2 separate regions of the Homo sapiens genome follow, and region 1 is linked to region 2. The links are contacts of gene promoters, found by promoter capture Hi-C in human tissues and cell types (Jung and others, 2019). All regions are on one chromosome and are shown on one strand. Each heading gives the region's core, a stretch centred on a gene start or on the middle of the fragment in contact. The rest is flanking DNA. Distances are from core to core; before and after follow the strand shown. Region 1 has its middle 44 kb from the start of NKX2-2. Region 2 holds the start of NKX2-2 (NK2 homeobox 2).

Region 1 (6,731 bases), core at 1,389-3,888, 43 kb after region 2:
CAATCCTTAGACAAAGAGTGGGCTTAGATTTGGTTGTAGTTTACATTTCAGTCGTGGTTATTTATGATTCTTCTGTTATGCCTATTCTAAACTCTACTATCGTTTAAACAAATTTACTTTCAATTCTCCACTGAGTTCACCAAAGACAAATAATCCTTCTGCAACTGGCAGGGCTGAAGATTAAGCCACCCTGGGCAATTAAGCGTATCCCAAGGTTCAGCTGGTATGCTGTAGTTTACATTCATTACAGCCATTTAGCAAGGTTCGACAGCTTATACTCCTGGTCTGAAGGAGGACTTGTATCCTTCATTAGCATTCTTATATTCAGCTAGGATGTTGTGGCATATACCACTGTCAGGCTGAGTCCCAGCATTACGAGATTAGGGCTGCAAATTTCACCCTTCTGCCACTAGTGGAATCCTCCAGGACTTGGCTTCTGTAAACAGCTGTGGCAGCTTTTGAAGGAAAAGCTGGAGTGTGTACCAATAAGGAAGTATAAACAACCAGGGTTGATTATCATGGTTATACAATTAGAAACTGGGAATTCAGCTTTGAATCAGGACCCAAAATGGGTACAAAAGAACTTAATTCAGGATCTCCAATATGGTGTCTTTTAAAAAGGAGGCTACAAATATGGTAGCAATATGGCATATCAGTTAACTATTGCTGCATAATAAACAGCCTCAAAAGAAATCTCAGCAGCATACAACAATAAGAACCTCAACCGCTTGCAGATCTTTGGGTAGGCTGAGCAGTTTAGCTGACTTCAACTGGGCTAACTCACGTGTCTGGGCATTAACCAGTCCAGCCTGGGCTTGGCTAAGGTGACTGAGCTCTGCTTCACATGACTCTCATCCTCCTGGCACTGGCTGGTTAGCCTGGCCATGTTCTTCTCATGATCATGATGGAGGCAAAAGAAAAAGACTTCACAAGTGTTGTCCCAGCTCTTTCTTTCTTGTCTGCTGATATCCCACTAGCCAAAACAAGTCAGGTGTGCAAAAGTACACCCCTTCTTTGCAAAGCTACATGGCAAAGGACACAGATTCAGAAAGGGATGAAGAATTTAATGTAATCTACTAGATGGGACAAAGAGACTTGAAACTACACATGTGATTAACCCGTTTATGTTTGAGGTTGCAATTTTTTGAATTTGAAAAATCAGACCTTGGCAATGACCTTGAGCAGAAGAATATAAATAACTCCCACATGCTTAGCATTCCAATAATGGAAAACTAGGCATAAATAGGTTCAGAATAAAGAAAGAAAATGAGTTAATGAACAATTAGGTCCTTCATTGAAAAAGTTGCTAAGAGTGCCAGGTGTGTTGAAGACCTAAAGAATCCTCGAACAGTACAGCTCTAACTGAATTTAGGGTCCTCTAGATCAGTGGTTCTTAGCCTTTGTGAGGTCTGAATTTTTTAAATATATGCGAAAATATACATTTTACAAGCATTCTGTGGACTCTCTGAAAGCCATCTGTGAACACCTTGGAAATACATAAACCCATTGTTAACAGGTGGAGAAGCTGAGTTACATTATGATTTATGCTCAGAGAGATCTTTCAGCTAGCGTGAAAACTGCATTTAGTTGAATTTGGTGTTGTACCAAAGTGAATATAAGCCAGACAATAGTCCACTGCTCAAGAACCTCCTAAAGCATTCCTTCACATAGTGTAGAACCTGTACTCCTTACTATGGCCTTCAAGGCCCTCCAAGGCCTGACCCCTGCCCACCTTCACAAACTTGCTTTCCGTCTTGCATCAGCATCCAACCAGACAGGCTTCTGTGCTGTTTCTTGCACTTGCCAAGTTTGGGGCCTGAGCAATTCTGTTCCCTCTGCCTGGGATGCTCTTTTCCTGCCAATTCACACTGCTATCTCCATTGTTTTATTTAGGATTCTGTACAAATAAAGGCCTTCTCTGAACATCACATTTAAAATGCCAACCCTCAATCACTCTTGCTTTATTTATAATCTGAGCCATTTGTTTTTTCTCTATGCCTGTGGTGGATACAAGTACCTGAGCGTAGAGACTTGATTTATTTTTTCCTTCACATATCTCCAGCATCTAGCACCAGGACTGAAACAGAGAGGGCACTTGAGTAGGTATTAAATGAGTAAATTGACATGTTACACTATAAGATATATATCCACAGGGAAACCCAGAGATGAAAATATACCAGAATACATTTCACAACCAAATTGTAAGAAAGAGATTTCATACAGCTCAGTCTTGCAAAGAAAGTGGAACCCCTCTCCTAGCTTTCTGAATGGTTTTCATTTAAGAATCTTAATGTTTAATTTCAAATAATAACAAGTCATCAAATCAAATGATTAGCCATAGCTAATTAGCCCTACCAAGGATTTTGTAGCGTTTTTATTACTTAGGAAGAGATCCATTGGTGCAGGTGGGAATGTTGTCTGAAATAAAGCTTTGGAGCAAAAACTTGTAATTGATCAATGGGTATGTGTGTTTCTTTACAGGTGGGCACCAAACATAAGGCTTAGTTTCTTGATGTGTAGCTTTCTTCTGTATAACCAGCCTAAGATTTGGAGCATCTTATCAAACACTGAATGGAGATGATGAGTTGGCTGTGAGGAGGTTATAAGCTGTCCTTAGCAGTGATTTATGGAGGCTCTGATTTCAGAGGTTAACAAAGATTTGCTTTAGGTTTATGTGCCATTTTCCAAAGTCATTCTGAACTGACAGATAAATGTGTAGCCCTCTTTGCTGGCGCCTTTTATGGGTAGGTGCAGCTGGATGAAAATCAGCCACAAAAGAGATCCCAGTGTTATCATTAATGGTGACTGTGTAACAGATGTTGTCTACATATTAGGGGAGGCTGCTTAATTTGTCTCTTGCAAACATGAAGCCTCTTAAAACTATTATGTACCAAACATTGTCTGGAAAATTTCATTCTTTTGTAACACAGTCCTCCTTTAGGAAGAACAGCAGTTTGAAATTAAAAGAATAAAAGAAAGACTCAAATGAAGGAATACTATGTGCATTACATTTTTGTTCATCATGATTATGGTGAAGAGACAAAAAAAAGACATTATGGTATTGCCAAGGGAAAATACACGTATTAAAGACAAAAGTCTAAATGAATAGGTACTGAACAAGTGATGAGAAATTAGGGTGGAGATGGGGTTTTGCCTCCTGTCGTTTATAAGCAAGCCTCCCCATTGACTTACTGCCTAGGAAGAACAGAGTGGGTGACAAAGAGTTAGAAATCTTGCCCATAATGGTAGGAAAGTGATTTCATTCCACTCACCATCTGGTCAGCTCAGCCTATTTTTCAGGCAAAAGATTAGTCGTTTGTTAGGTACATTAAGCCCCAATTCTTTACAAAGCCCACCACACACACACACACACACACACACACACACAGTTGTGATAGTCCAACACCATGTTTCTCTACTTTTCTCCTCTCTAAAAATATGCATGAATTTCATTTTCATTTTGGAGAGATTTTGGGGAGTTTATCATGCTATGATAACACAAATGGCTTCTACTTTTTTCTCAGTAAATAAAAGAAGGCTTTCATAAGACCGTAAAAAGAAAGTTGTGTATGGGAGAGTTGTACATTGGTATAGTCATTTTGGAAAGAAATTCAGCAATTTTGTCAAGAATTAAAATGATTTCAAACATTGTGCCCCAAAACTTCACTTCTGAGAACCTGCTCTTAAGAAGTTCAAAATAATAAAAAGGCACATCATAAAAATACATTTTATAATAGCAAAAATGGCATTTTTATAATAGTAAAATTGGAGGCAAACTCAAATTCTTATATTAGGTTATATTTAAATAAATTATTATAAGTTACCTAACAAAATAATTTTAGCATTAAAATTATAGATATGAATACTACATAATAACTTGAAGACATTTATGCTATATATTAAATTTTTAAAAGGAATGAAAAATTGAACATAGATGATTTGTATCCTTGTAAAATATGAATATGAAAAAAGTCTGTAGGGAAATATACCATTAAGATAAATATTTTTGTAAAAAAAAAAATAGAAAGAAAAAGATGGCTATAGAACGAAAGCAGGTTGTATCCGAAGAGTAATTGTTTCCCTCAGTAAGCACCAGCTAGTGTATTTTAGAAGCAGTTTCCTGCATATCAAACTACTTTACTATGTGTTTATCATTCCTGGCAATCCTCCTCCCCTGGCCATATTTTCAGATTATTCATTAGATTATCAGTATAAATAAAAAGGTAAATGTTTGCATCAGCACTCATTTTAACACTAAAATGGCAAGATTGTTTCTCCTCTTGATTTAGGGGGCCAAGGTGCAGAAGTCTTTCCATCCTATTCCCAAGGAACCTCCAGATTCTCGGAACAAAGGTAGTATGGGAGAACTGAAGCAATAAAATGACCTGCAATGTTTCATGTAAATTAATTCCCCAACACAGTGATTTCAGGGTAAGTCATTGCAATATACACTCAATAAATACCTTTCCACTTTGGAATCCTTCCAGTATTCTAAGTGGAGAGAGGTTGGTTGACTTAAGAGATTAATAAAGACCTCCAAAACTGCTTGAATTTTAGGGCCAGTATAAAATGCGGGTCTCAGGCATTATCACTGGCTGCCAAGGAGCACCACAAGCTGGGGTCAGGGAATATCTGTGAACTTACAGATATCCAGCTTCAAAGTCAAATGTAACCTTCCAAAAACTTTTTAAAATTGTTGCCAATGCCATATTGCTCATGTAGTGTAAAACAATTTACCTGAGCTGTACCTTTATTTTATAATTAATCCCCCCCCCCAACAATGAGGTGAGAAAGCCTTAGTTTAAAACAAAACCTCTGTGCCACCAGTAGACCAAGCAGAATGAAAAGATTATCCAGGATGTGGGGAAGAACCTGCCTCTGCTCTATGCCCAGTGCGGGCCTGGCTTTTGGTTGTTTCAAAAGCATCAGGTGTATTCCTGCCCTCAAAGACCTTCGAATCTTGTAGAGGGACACAACATGTGAGTAACTGATGCAGTAAATGGTCTCTACTCAGCAGGCAATAGACAGAAACTGGCTGCTATTTCTCTAGCCTCTGCTTCCAGTTTGGCCACATCAGGTCCCTTGTTCTAGTCCTCATCTTAGGCCTATCAGAGAATTTCTCCTCTAGTTGCTTTTGGTTATTAAATTCAGTCCATAGAATTCCATTGAAATCTTCTTCCCTCCTGTCCCCATTGTGGGCTTCAGCAGAGACCCCAACTGCATGGAGTGTGGGGAAATGGAATACACAGGATTGGAAAATGATGTTGGGATGAGGAGAGAAGGAAGAAACTTGTCTCATTCCTCAGCTGGCAGCAGCTGGCATTCTTTCTCCCCTGAAGTCATTGCTGCCCTGGCTGACAGTGCCTGGCCCTGAAGCCCACAACAAGGCAGACTCCATGTATCATCTCTCCTGGGATATGTGGATAATTTGGGGGAGATCCAGCAGCAGAACCTCCTAAAGTTCCCTGACATGGGAGAACTACCTTGCTAAGAACTGTCATCGTTCTCCCTTCTGGCAGGCCCTCTCTCTATTGGAGTCCTATGGAAGCCCCCTGTGACCCCCTCAGCACTCCCACTCCCTCCATATAGAGGAAGGGGATAACCTGACCCTACTAACCTTTTCCTTCTCCAAGGCCCACTCTCCCCTCCCAGTGTCCTCCTGACGAAGAGATGAGAGTTAGGCTGCTTGTAGGAGTGTTTGTTGAGCTATTTCTGCCACCTCTTAGGTGATGTGTGGAGGGGAGGTTCTGGCTTTAGTTGTTAGCTGCTTTCTTAAAATTAGGACATTGGCTCCCAACCTTGGTTGCTCATTAGAATCATTTTGGGGAGTTTTTTTAAATTCCCAATGCCTGGGTTGGCCCACCCCATGCGATAGCAGAGTCTTGGGAGATAGGCCTAAAAGACAGGATAATTTTTCAAGAAATGTGGTTTGAATCTGCAGTCAGGACCCAGAGCAACTACGGTCTAAATGTTTAGAGTGGATGTTCTCAGCCTTAGCTGCACATTGGATTAACCAGAGGGCTTTGAAAAGAGCATATGCTGGGTCCACCCCACAGATTCTGATGTCATTGGCTGGGTGCTTCCACTGCTGTGGGAACTCCTGTTTTCTGTAGCTGACATCATGGAATCCTAAAAGAAGGCTCCAGGGAGGAGGGGATCCTCAGGCCACAGAGGGCACCCAGGCCTGGTGTACCTCAGCAGCTCTGCCAACCTGAGCTTCGTCTCCTCTCCCTATAGGAGCTTCTCCAATGATCCTCCGTCACCTTTACCCCCACCCACTGCCCACCCAGCTACTTCAGTCACACACTGGTCTAAAAAATAAATCTTCACATCAAACTGTGTGGTAAGGCTTTTGGCTTATTGTGATGAGGAAGATTAAAAATACAGGCTGTACTAATAATAGAAATTTTACGTCATCCTTGGTTTACCTTAGCACAAGTTAAGAACAGAGGAACCCTGTCTTGGGACATCATGGGTCTAGTCTACCTATGGCTGCACACTTGCTACCCTCACAAACACTCAGAAATGATACTGAACTATGGTCTGAGTTTTCCAATATTATCTTTTTTTTCCAGCTTACTTACTCTAAAACAAACTCATCTGATAACTTTTCTGGAGGTTTCCAGTGGCAAATTATAAAGAAAATCTAACAGGGTGCTGGATGGGAGTCAAGCTTGTGAATGCCTTTCATCTTTCCTTCTCTTCCTTTATCTAAATTTTGTTCAACCTCC
Region 2 (6,612 bases), core at 1,893-4,392:
CGCAAGCTGAGACCCAGAAGGATTCGGCTGGTCATTGAGGCTAAGGGGCAGGCGCAAAGGCAAACCCGACCTTTGAGAACTGGGCTGAGGGCCTCCTTCTCTAGGCGCCTATGGCAGCACTCCCTCCCCGTGATTAATTCCAGGAGCCAGGATTCCCCTAGGAAAGCAATCCTCTCTCAGGCGCTCTGCGGACCTTGCAGGCTCCCACGGGTGAGGGGAGGGGACTTGATCAATAGCAGCGGTGCTGATTTAGATCCTGAGAAGAAAGGGTCACTATGCTGGGGAAGGGGGAGAGAAGTTGGGAACTACATGGAACTTCAGCGAGGTGGTTCCCAGCTGAAGAAATGAACACGCTTTGGGAGGCCTCTGCGGGCACTCCCCCACCTAAGAGGGCTCTGGGGATATGCGAGAAACGACACTTGCTGCCAAAGACCCCTTTGCCACCTGACCCAAGAATTTGCCTGGCCCAACCAGATCCTATTCTGGGTCCCCAACCTAGTGGCTGCCCTGGACCCCAAGACAGCCTCCACCCCCTTAGGACTGAGGAATAAGAGGAGGAACAAAAGGAGGGTCTTTGCTGCAACGCTTGGGTTGAGGAACTTTTTTTCTCTCCAGTTATTTATTTAGCAGCTGAGTAACAATAGCAGTGGCAGGCCCACTCCCGCCCCTGGATCCAAACTCGACGCTTCCCCGACTCCTGGAGAACCAACTTCCCTCCTCCGACGGGGCAGAGCGACGAGCTCCCACGTGAAAGGGCGGAGGAGGGGGGGCGCTGAGAAAGACAGAGACGGAAAGCGAGCAAAAAAAAAAAAAAAGCACGAAAAGTAATGGGTTCGAGGAAGACGATTCAAACAAGTTTCTAATTCTTCCAGGGGAAAAAAGGGGGGAAGGAGGGGGAGAAAGGAGAAAAGAAAAAGTAGGAGGAGAAAGAGGAATCGGGGAGCGTCGACATGAAGGGGTTTCCTTAATATTGTGGACGGATTCAGAAATGAATGAAGAGATAGTCCATTGAAAAGGGTTGAATGCCATGACAACTAGGAACAACCTTAGATTTATTCCAAACAGTTAGGACACATTGAAAGAGAGCGTCAATCATGTATTATTTCGCCACTGAAATAAATGCAAAAACCGAGCCGGGACAAAGGCTTCCAACGGGAGCGGGACATTTGTCTACATTTCGCTCATTGTCCGCAGCTTAGCAATCGGTTTGTATTTGTGTTTGCCCGGGTCCGACCACCCAGGACGCGCCGACGAGGGGCTTGCTCTAACCTGGGCCATTGTCACCCACGTCACATACTGGGGGCGAGGCAGCTAGGGCTGCAGAAAGCCGCCGAGCGGCTCGGGGAGAGGTGCCCTCACCCAGCGCTGGCAACCCGGGGGCAGCTGGGGCGCGGCGGCGTCCGCTGCAGCTGCGCGCGAGGAGGACCCGGTGCCCGCGCGCTCAGCTTGGCCCGCGCGGAGGAGCCCAGGTTGTGGGAAGACTAGACCTGGACCCCGCAGGGGTGGCCTTCTGTGCCCCTCCCCGCCCCCAGACAAAGCTCCTTCCTGACACTCCTCTGGGGCGAACGAGCATCAGGTAGCCAATCTACACCCCTGCACCCCCCCCCCAAAAAAGTTTTAACTAGAAGAAGGGGTGGCAAATGCGGCGTGGTCTTTTCCAACCCCAGCGCCGAGGAGGAAGTGCAAGTCCCGGGAAAGTTCAGTTCCCAGAGCCGAGAGTGGCTGGAAACTTCACACTAACCTGACTTAACCTGGAAACGTGGAGCGCGTACTCCGAACGCACCCAAGGCGTCCAAAAAGAGACCACACTAAAGAACTCGCGTGGGAGAAGAAAACTGGGGAGAAAACGAGGCATCGTCGGGCCACCCAGCGACCCCCCTCCCCCGCAGCTTTCTGGGTCTTCACCCAGGCTGGAGACACAACCCCCACCCCCACCCCCGCAATCCCGCCCCGCCGCCTTCCCGCTGCTCCACCTCTAGCCAGAGGCTGGAGAGGGAGGGGGCCGGAGAGGGAGGGATAATAGAGGGCAGGAAAGAGCAGGGCCGTCTGCCCTTTCCTCCACCCGGGGAAAGAGGCCCGCAGAGCCCAGAGGCAGCAGGGCCAGGGTCCGACCCCAGACGAAGTTGGAGCTCCTCACTCTTACCCCGCCCTCCCCGGGACCGCCCGCAAAGCAGAAAGTGAACTGCGCGTCCTCCTTGGCCGCAGAGAGGTGGAGGCGGGGGGTTGGGGGTGGGAGGTGGGGGGAGGCGGAGTGAAGGAAATAAATGAGTCTTTAGCAAATAAAGGGCGGCTGGAAGGGGGCGGGTCGCTTGGTGGTGGCTCTGGCCGGCCCGGAGCGGAGCTCTCTCCTGGGTTTTGGGCTCTCTCGCGGTTAACTGGAATCAATTACTTGCCTTGTCATTTCTAGCACTCATCCTTAAGCCTCAACCAAAATATTGACCTAGGAGGCTTACAGAAGTTGGGCTCTTGCCATTTGAACCGGATCTTGTTTAGGCAACCACCAACGATGGAAAGGAGAGATTTCCGCAGCTCGGCCTTCGCCCCCTCCCCCTTTTCCAAAGGCGCCACAAATCGCCAATTTTCCGGCTTGCCGGGGGTGGGCGCGCGGGGGCGGGGAGGTAGGAACCGGTGAATGTTAAAGAGGATTTTTTCCCTCCTCCTGGTTTCTGTTTTGTTTTCTCCCCTCCTCCTCCCCACCCCCACCTTTTTTAAGATGCAATTTGTTAAAACGGCCCTTTCAAGTGTGTGGACTCGCGAGCGACGCGGTGGCCCTTTGTATGTAAATACTGGGTTTAAAAAAAAAAAGGCTCGCCCCGTCTTTGCAATTAATTGACACGTTACACCTCTCATCTTGCTCTAGAGGGCCGTTGGCTGGGAGCGCGGAGCTCCCCAAAACCCACAATTTCACATCTGCAAATACTGTCTTCATCCACTTGACTCCCAAGACCCGCCCACACGTGGCCAACCTTTGCGTTTTTAATGTCTCTTCCCCCTTTTTTCCACCCTTCTCCCGCTCCCTCTCTCGCTCCCCCTCCCTCCCTCTTTCTTTCCCTCCCTCCCTCTCTTTCTCCCCCTCTCCCCGCCTCCCCAGGTTCGTGAGTGGAGCCCAGCCTTATATGGACTGATCGCTCGGGCAATGGCCCATTTTTTCCTCGCCACCAGCCGCCACCGCGCGCCGAGCGGCCGCCGGAGCCCGAGCTGACGCCGCCTTGGCACCCCTCCTGGAGTTAGAAACTAAGGCCGGGGCCCGCGGCGCTCGGCGCGCAGGCCGCCCGGCTTCCTGCGTCCATTTCCGCGTGCTTTCAAAGAAGACAGAGAGAGGCACTGGGTTGGGCTTCATTTTTTTCCTCCCCATCCCCAGTTTCTTTCTCTTTTTAAAAATAATAATTATCCCAATAATTAAAGCCAATTCCCCCCTCCCCTCCCCCAGTCCCTCCCCCCAACTCCCCCCTCCCCCGCCCGCCGGGGCAGGGGAGCGCCACGAATTGACCAAGTGAAGCTACAACTTTGCGACATAAATTTTGGGGTCTCGAACCATGTCGCTGACCAACACAAAGACGGGGTTTTCGGTCAAGGACATCTTAGACCTGCCGGACACCAACGATGAGGAGGGCTCTGTGGCCGAAGGTCCGGAGGAAGAGAACGAGGGGCCCGAGCCAGCCAAGAGGGCCGGGCCGCTGGGGCAGGGCGCCCTGGACGCGGTGCAGAGCCTGCCCCTGAAGAACCCCTTCTACGACAGCAGCGACAACCCGTACACGCGCTGGCTGGCCAGCACCGAGGGCCTTCAGTACTCCCGTAAGTAGCAAAACTTGGCTGCCGAGGCCGTGGTCCCCTCCATTCCTGCAGCCGCAGCCCGGGTTGGACGCTGGGAGTGAAAGGGGAAGGGGCCATGTAAGCCCGGACCCCCTCACTCGGATCCGTAGAAAGATTTTTAACACCTGTATAGGATGTCCTCTGCCCTCCTCTTCAAGCCTCCTTAGTTCCGGGAAAGAACTTGGTCTCCAAAATTTTTTTCAATGCGAGAAGTTAAGGAGAAAGAGGGAGAAGGGCTATACCTCCCAGGGGCTGGTATATGATGTCAACCCGGACCGATGGCTCCAGCCGCAGCCCCCGGACTCCGGCCGCTGGGAGGGACTGGCCTGGCGCCCTGGAGGTAGCCAGCGAGCCTCGTCCGGGTACGGGTGGAGGGTGGGGAGGCTTCGGGTGGCCCGGGTATAAATAGCTCACCCTGCCCCCTGCGCGATCATAGAGGACGCTTTGTGCAGTGCAGGGGGTGTCTAGAAGGCCCGAAAGCAGAAACGAAAGCCCCCAAAAACCTGCCTTAAATGGCCGAGCCGATCAATGCTGGGATTGTGGGGTATTTCTTTTAAAAATCTGCCCACGTCTCGCCGGAGAGGAAACCGCTTAAGGGCGCCGGAGCCCTTAACCCGCGATGATCTTCAGTGCCACTTCCCCCCCCAAATTCTCACCCACACTATGTGAGCCCCTTGAAAGGCGAGCCCCTAGCCCCCACTCCTACGGATTTCCCTCTTTACCCTGGGAGGTCCCGACGTCTTCGTCAGGCGTAGAGGAAGGCAGGGGTCATGGCAAAGGCAGCGGGGCTGGGCTGCCAGGCGCGGAGGTCCAGGGTCGCACGGAGGATCCAGGGTGCTCCGAGTCTGGTGCAGGCTGCGCGCGGCCTCCAGACGCCTGACGCGCTTCTCTCTCCCCCTCCCCCCAGTGCACGGTCTGGCTGCCGGGGCGCCCCCTCAGGACTCAAGCTCCAAGTCCCCGGAGCCCTCGGCCGACGAGTCACCGGACAATGACAAGGAGACCCCGGGCGGCGGGGGGGACGCCGGCAAGAAGCGAAAGCGGCGAGTGCTTTTCTCCAAGGCGCAGACCTACGAGCTGGAGCGGCGCTTTCGGCAGCAGCGGTACCTGTCGGCGCCCGAGCGCGAACACCTGGCCAGCCTCATCCGCCTCACGCCCACGCAGGTCAAGATCTGGTTCCAGAACCACCGCTACAAGATGAAGCGCGCCCGGGCCGAGAAAGGTATGGAGGTGACGCCCCTGCCCTCGCCGCGCCGGGTGGCCGTGCCCGTCTTGGTCAGGGACGGCAAACCATGTCACGCGCTCAAAGCCCAGGACCTGGCAGCCGCCACCTTCCAGGCGGGCATTCCCTTTTCTGCCTACAGCGCGCAGTCGCTGCAGCACATGCAGTACAACGCCCAGTACAGCTCGGCCAGCACCCCCCAGTACCCGACAGCACACCCCCTGGTCCAGGCCCAGCAGTGGACTTGGTGAGCGCCGCCCCAACGAGACTCGCGGCCCCAGGCCCAGGCCCCACCCCGGCGGCGGTGGCGGCGAGGAGGCCTCGGTCCTTATGGTGGTTATTATTATTATTATAATTATTATTATGGAGTCGAGTTGACTCTCGGCTCCACTAGGGAGGCGCCGGGAGGTTGCCTGCGTCTCCTTGGAGTGGCAGATTCCACCCACCCAGCTCTGCCCATGCCTCTCCTTCTGAACCTTGGGAGAGGGCTGAACTCTACGCCGTGTTTACAGAATGTTTGCGCAGCTTCGCTTCTTTGCCTCTCCCCGGGGGGACCAAACCGTCCCAGCGTTAATGTCGTCACTTGAAAACGAGAAAAAGACCGACCCCCCACCCCTGCTTTCGTGCATTTTGTAAAATATGTTTGTGTGAGTAGCGATATTGTCAGCCGTCTTCTAAAGCAAGTGGAGAACACTTTAAAAATACAGAGAATTTCTTCCTTTTTTTAAAAAAAAATAAGAAAATGCTAAATATTTATGGCCATGTAAACGTTCTGACAACTGGTGGCAGATTTCGCTTTTCGTTGTAAATATCGGTGGTGATTGTTGCCAAAATGACCTTCAGGACCGGCCTGTTTCCCGTCTGGGTCCAACTCCTTTCTTTGTGGCTTGTTTGGGTTTGTTTTTTGTTTTGTTTTTGTTTTTGCGTTTTCCCCTGCTTTCTTCCTTTCTCTTTTTATTTTATTGTGCAAACATTTCTCAAATATGGAAAAGAAAACCCTGTAGGCAGGGAGCCCTCTGCCCTGTCCTCCGGGCCTTCAGCCCCGAACTTGGAGCTCAGCTATTCGGCGCGGTTCCCCAACAGCGCCGGGCGCAGAAAGCTTTCGATTTTTTAAATAAGAATTTTAATAAAAATCCTGTGTTTAAAAAAGAAAAAAAGAAAAAATCCCTGCCCTCCCGTTTGTCCTACTGCGCCGGGCCGGAGGCCTGGGCCTGGGAGCCGGGCCCGGCCGCCCGCGGGGCTCCCACAGGCGGTTCCTCTCGGGCGGGGAGGCCGGGGGTACCGGGGCCCTGGGGCGGGCGGGGCTCCCGGTGCAGGCCCCTCCGACCACAGGCTGCACCCCGCGCCTAGGATTGGGGCGGGGAGGAGAACGCTCGGCCTCCGGCCTGCGAGCGGTCGGCCGGAAGCCCAGGGCCGCCCACCCTCCCCCGCATCTCCCCTGGTCTCGCGCGCTGTCTGAACCCCGGGCGGCAGCGTCCGGCTACGGGAGGAAAAGTGACTTCGGGAGCCGCAAAGGCGAGGAGAGCAAACCCCCCTCGCTGGCCCAAATCTATGAGTGGCTCCTTCAGCCTGAGAAGCTG

The links. The method cuts DNA at HindIII sites, captures the fragments that hold promoters and counts their contacts. A contact is called where the count stands out against the background at its distance.
Region 1: a fragment that was not itself captured here is called in contact with the fragment with the promoter of NKX2-2 in region 2 in 2 of the 25 tissues and cell types used here (neural progenitor cells and spleen).

What each region holds. Positions count from the first base shown.
Region 1 is chr20:21,466,503-21,473,233 of GRCh38, reverse strand. No RefSeq gene overlaps it. Among named protein-coding and RNA genes, the nearest start is that of NKX2-2, 44 kb to the left of the region's middle. The HindIII fragment of the contact is 3,826 bases long and covers 726-4,551 here.
Region 2 is chr20:21,510,594-21,517,205 of GRCh38, reverse strand. NKX2-2 (NK2 homeobox 2) reads left to right here and starts at 3,142. Exons shown (of 2, transcript NM_002509.4): 1 at 3,142-3,795; 2 at 4,721-6,189. The coding sequence starts at 3,537. The coding sequence ends at 5,283. RefSeq lists an enhancer at 945-1,445. The HindIII fragment of the contact is 15,862 bases long and covers 1-6,612 here.